Regions from separate parts of the Homo sapiens genome. Here region 1 is linked to region 2. Evidence: promoter capture Hi-C in 16 types of primary human blood cells and fetal thymus (Javierre and others, 2016). All regions are on one chromosome and are shown on one strand. The core of a region is centred on a gene start or on the middle of the fragment in contact, and the rest is flanking DNA. Distances in the headings are between cores, read along the strand shown. Region 1 overlaps PCCA (propionyl-CoA carboxylase subunit alpha). Region 2 holds the start of CLYBL-AS2 (CLYBL antisense RNA 2).

Evidence for each region. The method cuts DNA at HindIII sites, captures the fragments that hold promoters and counts their contacts. A CHiCAGO score of 5 or more calls a contact.
Region 1: a fragment that was not itself captured here is called in contact with the fragment with the promoter of CLYBL-AS2 in region 2 in 2 of 17 cell types (megakaryocytes and naive CD8 T cells); the score reaches 7.3 in megakaryocytes.

The regions. Positions count from the first base shown.
Region 1 is chr13:100,230,138-100,234,650 of GRCh38, reverse strand. The region is part of intron 7 of PCCA (propionyl-CoA carboxylase subunit alpha); the gene reads right to left. Among named protein-coding and RNA genes, the nearest start is that of PCCA, 140 kb to the right of the region's middle. The HindIII fragment of the contact is 1,762 bases long and covers 828-2,589 here.
Region 2 is chr13:99,688,540-99,693,401 of GRCh38, reverse strand. CLYBL-AS2 (CLYBL antisense RNA 2) reads left to right here and starts at 2,431. Exons shown (of 2, transcript NR_046526.1): 1 at 2,431-2,849; 2 at 3,046-3,304. All of the region lies in intron 1 of CLYBL (citramalyl-CoA lyase), which reads right to left. LOC124903199 (a long non-coding RNA gene) reads right to left here. Exons shown (of 2, transcript XR_007063848.1): 2 at 3,033-4,788. RefSeq lists an enhancer at 495-1,252 and a silencer at 2,293-2,587. The HindIII fragment of the contact is 1,922 bases long and covers 2,187-4,108 here.

The sequences.
Region 1 (4,513 bases), core at 459-2,958, 540 kb before region 2:
TTCTTTAAAGTTCTTCAGTACCTAATAACATCCCCTGAATAAGGAGGTTGGCAGGGGAAGTTGTCAGAAAAATTTAATTTCCTTTCATTAGCCAGTCTGCTCCACAAATAGGTGCTTGTTAAGTTCAAAGGGGTCCTGAAAGCGACATCAGTTTTAAGTTGTTTTTTTTTTTTTTTACTCCAAGCAGTCACATCTGCTAATGAGATTTTCCAAATAACAATTGTTTTCAAGTCAGAGATAAATCTATATCTCCCACCCTATGCCTTCCAAAATCAAGGTTTACTGCTTTATTACACGTTGCTGTTTTCGCTGACCCTACATTCTCCAAACTTTAGCTTAAAGGGATGAAAATCCATGAAAAGGGTCATTTAAGAATGTTAGTGGTTTCCACACATTGAGTTGGAAGGTTCTTTGTTCCAGCCAGTGACAGTTATTGGAGAATACTTCCCCTTAATAGCCTCTCTGTCAGGAAGTGTTAAACCTGCCAAATGCGAACAATTAGTGCCTCTTGAACAAAATACAGGAAGAGTGATGGCTGATGAAGACTGGATTATAATAAACCTAGAAGAAAACTTTTAACATTTCTTTCCAACGTGATGAGAGAAAATAAACTGCTATTGTAAAAAGTTCATCACTTGAGAGAACTAACAGGCAAGTTTTAAAAGGTAATTCAAAAATTCATTAGACATATTTTGTCACTTATTTGAATATACATGTTATAGCTGGGTGTGTATGGATACATAAAGCCATATCTATATCTGACACAGCAAATTAAAAATTCCACTGCCACAAATCCAACACTTCTATAGCATGCCACAAAGCAAGCTTATCTTTCAACTTAACAGCATGCTAAGTCTTCTTACTATGAAAATTAGATTCTTCTAAATGAACTTTCAAATAAAATCAAGCTGCCTTAAAAATTAACTTTTCACTTGTCACTCATTCATCCAAAAATACTTTACTGAGGACCTATTATGCACTGGACATTAAAATCTCTATTACTGTTTCAATAATAAACTACTAAATATTATACACTCAGCCCCAATATGGTCTTTGAGAACATGAAGTTTTATTATCAGGCTCTACAAAATTACTTTTGAAGAGATAAAAAGCCCTATATAGCTCCAAATTCAATGGCACTAAGTGACATCACACTGTAAAGGTTGCCTATAACATCATAAGTTTAAAAAACTTTAATCAAACTCTGAATCAACTAAAAAAAGGACCAACAATCATCACAAAAGATTAAATTAAAAGCTCACAGAAAAACAGTTCCAGAAGCACAATATCTGTGCTCAGCCTTGCTCCTAATTACAGAAATACAAATTAAAACAATGAGATCTCACTTTTCCTCTAGCAAATTAAAATCTGATAATGGCCAGGATGACAAAGTTAAATACTTCTCATATTACTGGTGTCATAGAAAATGGGATAATCTTTTTAAAAAGAAATTGTCAGTATCTACCAAAAGTTTGAGGACACGTTATCTTTTGTTCTGAAATTTTACTCCTGGGAAGTCATCCTACAGATATACCCACATGAGTGAACACAGAGAGACATACAAAGAAATTCATTATTTTGAATTCGTTGGTGGTGTTTTAATAAGAAAAAAATTCTGAAAAACAATTTAGTAAGCCTTCAACAAAGGACTGGTACATCCATAAAATGAAATATTAGCCTTTAAAAAGAATGCAGTTGATCTATATGTTCTTATTCAACCACTTATACATTAATTCAATAACTATCTGCCCAGCAACACTACATGAAATACATCTTCTGCCTTCATGGAGCTTATTACAAACTAATGAGAGAAACAGAAAATAAACAAATCAATTGATAACTAAAATAAATGTTACATAGAAACAGAGTACTCAGGCAAGAATACTAGGGAGAACTTGTTTCAGACAGGCTGCTCAGAAAGGGCCCTTCTGGAGTAAAATTTTAAACCTAAGGATAAAGACATCTAGCCAGGCCAAGCACAGTGGCTCACACCTGTAATCCCAGCACTTTGGGAGGCCAAGATGGGAGGATCACTTGAGGGTAGGAGTTTGAGACTAGCCTGGGCAACATGGCAAGATCTCTATCTCTACAAAAAAATACAAAAATTACTGGGTGTGGTGGTGGGACCTGTAGTCCCAGCTACTTGGGAGGCTGAGGCAGGAGGATTGCATGAGCCCAGGAGGTCAGAGCTGCAGTGAGCCATGATGGCGCCACTGCACTCCTGCCTGGGAAATAAAGTGAGACTCCGTCTCTAAAACCACACACACACACACACACACACACACACACACACACACACGCATACACACACACACATAAACATAAACAGCTAGCTACCATGGAAAGATCAGGGAGAAAGAACATTAGACAGAGGGAACCACACATATAAAAATCCTAGATGAGGAAGCAATTTCATAGGGAAAGAATATCAGGCAGCTAAAGCTGAAACACAGTAAGGAAGTGGCAGCAAAGCACAAGATAAGGAGGTATGGACGGCGTGGCCCTGTTCTGGCCAGATCTTATGGGATTTGGTACACAGTCCAAGATGCCTTGGTTCTATACAAGGCAATGACAAATGACAATTAAGCTTTAAGAGAGTAACTCTTACACTGTAAAAATAAGCAAAATAAAGTATATACTGGGGGCGGGGGTAGCAAGTTGGAGTACATAGCGTATGACCTTACCTACATTAAGACAGAAATACACATTTGAACGCACAGGAAAGTTTAAGCATTAGACAGCTACAGAAACCAATTTACTGCTCAAAAGTAGGACAGACAGCCGGGCATGGTAACTCAGGCCTATAATCCCAGCTACTCAGGAGGCCCAGGCAGGAAGACCACTTGAGCCCAGGAGTTCTGTACTGACTTAAGCAACATCGCAAGACCTTGTCTATATTTAAGAATAAATAAATAAATAAATGTAAAAGGTAGGATTAAAAGTTGTAGGAAAAGGGAAATTAAAATTGTATGCTCTTAGGTACACGTTGAACTTTTTTACCATAAGAATCATAATTTCATACTTCATATTTTCATAGTTTAAAAATTAAATCAGCCATGCCTGAAGTTATCAAATTATTAATGATTTTGAGAATATTAAATGTTATCAAAACAAACTAGGAGTCCCCAAAATCACTTAAGCTTTTCATGACATCCCATTGCCTCAAAACCAAGTTTGAACTCCCTAGGCTGGTTTCAATACTTGATCCTGTCCGCCTAAGCATGAGTCTCAGCCCCACCCCTGTTCATCTTGCATCTTACCCTGCAGCCCAAGGCCCAGGCAGGCTCCCCAGCCTTGCACAGCCTTCTCAGTTCAGCCAGCCTCAGCCAGTAACTCTCTCCCCTTTTACCAAACCAGCTTTTATTACAATAGGCCCAATTCTGGGCCCTGAAGACACGGGACGGAACAAGAAAGACATCATCTTGGCCAACAGGTAATTTACAGGCTGGTGGAAAAGACAAACCTTAAATACAGCCACACAGCAGCTAAGGAATGATTATGTGGTGCATGTTATGTACAAGTTTTAAAGAGGGCATGTGACAACAGGGGATCTCTAATCCAAAAATAGATTCCTGAAAACTTTCTCAGGCGTGGTAACTGAAAAGACACCTTAGAAATAGAAGCGTAGTGAAAAACAGTGTCTGGGACCTGAAGAGAGAGGCGAGGGGAAGGCTGGGCCTCACAGCCACATGAGAGAAACTGAACTGTAGCCTCAGAGCAAGGAAATGAAGGGCTAGCTCTGGTTGCAGGCTGGAGAATTCTGGCATAGCATCTGCTTACTTATGATGTGCACTGTCCACCCTCTGCACCTCCCTAGCCCATTAAAATGTAAGCTCCATAAGGACAGAAACCCTTGTCCAGCTGGTTCAAGTTAGGTATTTCAAATCCCGAGCACACGCCTGGCACAGTTGTTATTCAACCAACAGTTGTTGGAAGAATAAATGAATGAATGAACAAACAAATGAACACTTTGAGAGGCAAGAGGGATCTGAAGAGTCAGGCTGGGAGGCAGTAGTCTGGGTGACAGGAAAATGACCATTTCCTCCCAGAGTCCAGGGTGGCATGCTTCCAGTTTCAGCTAATGCCACGTTCTTTCTTTTTTTTTTTTTTTGAGATGGGAGTCTGTCACTCAGGCTGGAGTGCAGTGGCACGACCTCGGCTCACTGCAACCTTTGCCTCCTGGGTTCAAGTAGTTCTCTTGCCTTAGCCTCCTGAGTAGCTGGGACTACAGGCAAACACCACCACACCCGGCTAATTTTTGTATTCTAAGTAGAGACAGGGTTTCACCATTTTTGGCCAGGCTGATCTCTAACTCCTGACCTCAGGTGATCCGCCCACCTCGGCTTCCCAAAGTGCTGGGATTACAGGCATGAGCCACCGCGCCCAGCCTGCCACTTTCTTTAGAGTGCCTTTCCAGTCCTCCCACACCTGGCTAGGTATCATTGCCACATGAACACATACACCACGCCCTGCAATTATGCAGCCCTTTTCACACTTAACCTTCATGAGGGCA
Region 2 (4,862 bases), core at 1,182-3,681:
AGAAAGAGAAAGCCTGTGTTCCCAGGTATGCTGGTGATTTTAAGGGAAGGAGGATGTTGCATTGGTCAGTTTTATTCTGACCAGTTTCCTAAGAACCTACTTTGTGCCTTGGTGAGTGCTGGACTGTGGGGGATACAAAGATGAAGAAGGATAATCCCTGTCTCAAGAAACTTAAAACCTAATGGAGGAGACAGATCTAATGATAATGAATATAAGATGCTTCATAATTAGTTTCATAACACAGGCACAAAACGCTATACATCCCAGTTCCTCAAAATGTTAAACATAGTTACCATAAGACCCAGCAATTCCACTCCTAGCTATATACCCAACAAAAATGAAAACGTATGTCCAACCAAAAACTTGTACACAAATGTTCATAGTGAAATTATAATGGCCATAAAGTGGATATCCCCCAAAAAATATCCATCATTGGAATGGATAATGGGGTATATTCCTACAATTGAACATTACTGGGCCAGAAAAAGGAATGAAGTACTAATGCATGCTACAACATGGACAAACCTTGAAAACATTATGCAGAGTGAAGGAAGCCAGAGATAAAAGGGCATATTTATATAGTCCCATTTATAGGAAATGTCCCGAACAGACAAATCTATAGATTTAGAAAGTAGATTAGTGGTTGTCAGGAGAAAGGAAGAGGGGTGCATAGGGAGTGAACCCCAATGGGTATGGGGTTTCTTTTAGGGTAAGGAAAATGTTCTAGAATTAGATAGTGATGATCATTACACAACTTTGTGAAGAGACTGAAAACCACTGACGTGTGTCCTTTAAAAATGTGAACTTTATGGCTGGAGGCGGTAGCTCACACCTGTAATCCCAGCACTTTGGGAGGGTGAGGCGGGTGGATCATAAGGTCAGGAGATCAAGACCATCCTGGCTAACATGGTGAAACCCCGTCTCTACTAAAAGTTCAAAAAAATTAACCGGGCGTGATGGCGGGTGCCTGTAGTCTCAGCTACTAGGGAGGCTGAGGCCGGGGAATGGCGTGAACCCGGGAGGCGGAGCTTGCAGTGAGCCGAGATCATGCCACTGCACTCCAGCCTGGGTGACTGAGCAAGACTGTCTCAAAAAAACAAACAAAAAAAAAAAAACAAAAAAAACAAATGTGAACTTTATGAGAGCTGAACTATGTCTCAATAAAGCGACAATTTTTAAATGCAATGGGAGGTCAGTGTGGGGAGTAATTGTGACTAAGGGGCAGGGCTGGCATATGTAATGCGTCTGCTGGCATTAAGCACAACTTGTGGATTCTAAGCACTTTCTTAAAATGAAAGAATGAGTGAAGAAAACAAATCACTGGATTTACTGTTCACTTCCAGGCTATCATATCCATCCTGGCTATGAAGGATGTACACTGAGTTTCTACGTTCTGAAACTGTTATTACTTAGGCACAGTCCACAGAAAGATCAGTCTGAAAACTCAGGGACCGGGAGCTCCGTGCAACATGGCTTTCAAGATCCTAGAAACTCTCGCTCTGTGTTCCCACCACCCTGGGCTGTTTCTTCATCCCATGGGTCCTTCTGTATTTATTTGTCCTTTGCACTGTGATGATTTGGAGGCAGTGACTACGCCTTTTATCTCTGTATCCCTAGAACCAGCAGCACATAGAAGGGACTTGCCAGGTGACTGCGGAAGAAGGGAGGAAGTCGCTATTAGCTTATGAGGAGCTTATAGTCTAAGTTTCAAGCTTTCTCATTTCTCCATTTTCTTATCACGTACAGTGATTACACTAAAAATACTCTGGTACCCTAGTGCTGGTTTTTTGTTTTTTGTTTTTTGGTTTTTTTTTTAGGTCAAAATGGGTCACACAGTGGCAATTTCATATGACTCAATCTAACACAAAGTCACTAGAAAGAATGTCTTTCGGGTCCCATTTCATGATACAAAATGGTTTTTAAACGTCGTTCCCTGAAGATCCTTTGGGGAGCACCAACAGAGAGATAATGGGGAGTGATTCTGATCCCCAACTGTCCCCTTCCCCCCCAAATTTTTAGAGTTTCTATGTAAGAGTTGGTTTGAACAAAAGACTTGTGTCTAAAAATTAGTTTGTAACTAATTTATTTATAGTATTTATAACTCTAGATAACTTAGATATTGATTAAGAAAATATCCCCCAAAACATGTTCTTTAGATCAAGGAAATAAAAAGTAATGCTTAAGCTTTTTGTTTCAGTTCATTGGAAAGCTACAGTGCTTACACATTTTTATGCTGTCTACCATCAGTGCATCTAGGGAAGGGCATCTATGGATGAGGCTACCATGTGGGAAATTCTTGAGTGGGCAGTGAGAGAGGGTTAGCAACTCAAAGCAAGTAATCCAAGGGTTAATCAGGAGAGACACTCAATCCAGAAAGTGCTCATTAACCCAAGCCTTTCTGCATAGTGTCCCTACCACCCTGCTGCCTCTAACTAAACAAAACACGGTAGGTCTCAGTGTGAGAGAGCGCTTTTGTTCACATAGGAGGCTGACAGCTATTTGCGATGAGGGGTTTTTGTTTGTTTGTTTGTTATTCAAATAACTTTTTTCCCCCTGAGGAAACTGAAAGGGAAAATGTCAGAAGTATGTGATTAATGATTTTTTAAAATAGATGGGATCTCCCCGGTTGAATTGAAAAGTAGGTACTGAAAAAGAATCCATTTCTAAATGGTAGATTTTCATATGTAAGTTTGATATTAATTCTTTCAAAAGAGTTGTGCCTGTGAGTCAGATAAATGACAGGAAGGTCTGTCTAAATACCAGCATCCTCGGAAGGGCAGCTGTTCAGAAACATTCTCAAATCATGAAGATAAATAGAACCGGAACACTGATGATTCCATCAACTGATGGTGAGGGAAACATCCAATTCTATCTTAACCTCCAAGCTGTGCGGTATTACGGTGCTTCCTAAAATGCTTTTAAATAAATACACAAAAAAGCCCGTGTTTGCTGGGGATGGGGGAAGTTGGTGATTGGGTTTGGGGGGCACAGGGAAGAGAAGTAGAGAGGAAAAACATACACCAAAATCTATGTTCCTTTTTTAAGGTTCCTTTTAATCAGATCTTAAAGCAAAGACAGAAGCTGAAAACATTTCTAGTAAATAAAAAGCAAAGAACTCTGAATGCTTAGCCGACCAGAACCCCGGAAGGAGCCCGCCTGGTACTGCCAGGCATGACTGCCTTTAGTGGATTTAACAATAAAAAAGAAGATGGCGCCAAATGACCAAACTACATGCGACTTTCCCTTCCCGCAAGAAAAGTGAATAAAACTTTCCACTGGGGCTGGGGGAGGAGGCAAGGGACCAGTCCAGAGAGATAAAATGCTACTTAACAAAACAATGTGGATAGCATTTAGGCCACATGTAAATTTCATCCACAGAGCTTGCAAATGGCATGCAATTTACTGCTCAGAGGATGTAACCTATTTGAGTCTAGAGAGCTAATTAATAACACAGTCTAAAAAGAACGCAGAGTTAATCGCCATCCATCTCCTGGGCTATTTTAACTTGTTTTTTTGACAGTTGCTGTTAAACAAAATTCTAAATATTGTTATAGCAGTCAGTTATTAGTTACCTTAACAAGATGCAAGTTTGGTGTTGGTCAAAGTTAAATCCTTTTAAAAAAAATACTTGAAAAAGTTGAAGCTGCTCTCCTCTTTAGAGCTTGTTCTGTGATGGATAAAAATTGCATCTATAAAGGTTTCAAGTCAGGTCACATTTAGAAAGTAATAGTAAATAACAGTAACTGGTAAACACAGTCCTAAGTCTTACTTGCAATTGCTCAAGTTGAAACAATTGAATACAGTCTTCAAAAATCATACTCTCATTTACAGATATGACTGGGCACATGGGATTTCAATCATGCTCCTTCATTGCTGAGAATCATGGAATTAAAATGGTAATAATTTTTACCTCTCACTTTTCTCTTGCCTTTTTCTTCCTTTAAGCATACCTGCACTAAGTAATTTTTGCTTTTCACTGATAACAAGAGAAGTTAGAGCCAGATTATTTTCTCTGGGACAACCTGTCTGTGATTGCAAGAATATAGTTCAAAACATCCTACAACTGGTATATGTGTAGCCCACCCTAAATCCTGTCTCCCCTGAAGCTTGCTGAAGGAAAGCGTGATGCCTCTCCATTCTGACCTGGTATGTATGCTTCTGGAATCCTGAAGCTGAGAATGAACTATATCCACTTTGCAGTAATGAAGCTTAAAATGTCAAAGATTCTGTAAGAGATTTTTGAGTGGAGGAAGATACTTGATGAATTTATGTGAAGTCCCAAGGGCTAGATGCTGGGACCCTAGATTCCAGCCAGAGTGTACTTACTAAGGACAGGAGGGGTGATGCTTGGGGTGTGAGGCCGGTTTTATTGAGAGTCCTTCCAAAACTGAGTGGGCAGACCTGGAAAACGCAGGTTTCACCTTGGCCTCAGTCCCAAAGGTGCATCTGTACCACTAGCTTTTGTCAGGATGAATGACGGTGCTGAGTAATTTCAGGAAAGCAACTCATCTGCCCAAATATGACTGCCAAAATATTCAGAATAATGTAGCTTAGCACTTCAATGTAAATTTTACTTTCTGACTTCACAAATAAGGAAGAAGTTGCCTTTTGGACGCTCTATCTTTTGCACTGGCTTTAATACCCAGGAACGGCCACTGTCAGATCCTCCATTCCATGCAGGAGCTGGAAGAGATATAAGGAATGTATTTCTTCTCTCTCTCTTCATGTCACCACCCTCTCATTTCCAGTTCACTTGTTATTCTTAAAGAGTAATGCCAAGTTTGTACACTAAAAAAAAAAAAAGAATCGGACTAAAGAAAAGCCAAATAAGTAATATAATTAGTAAATATGCTAATTCAGAT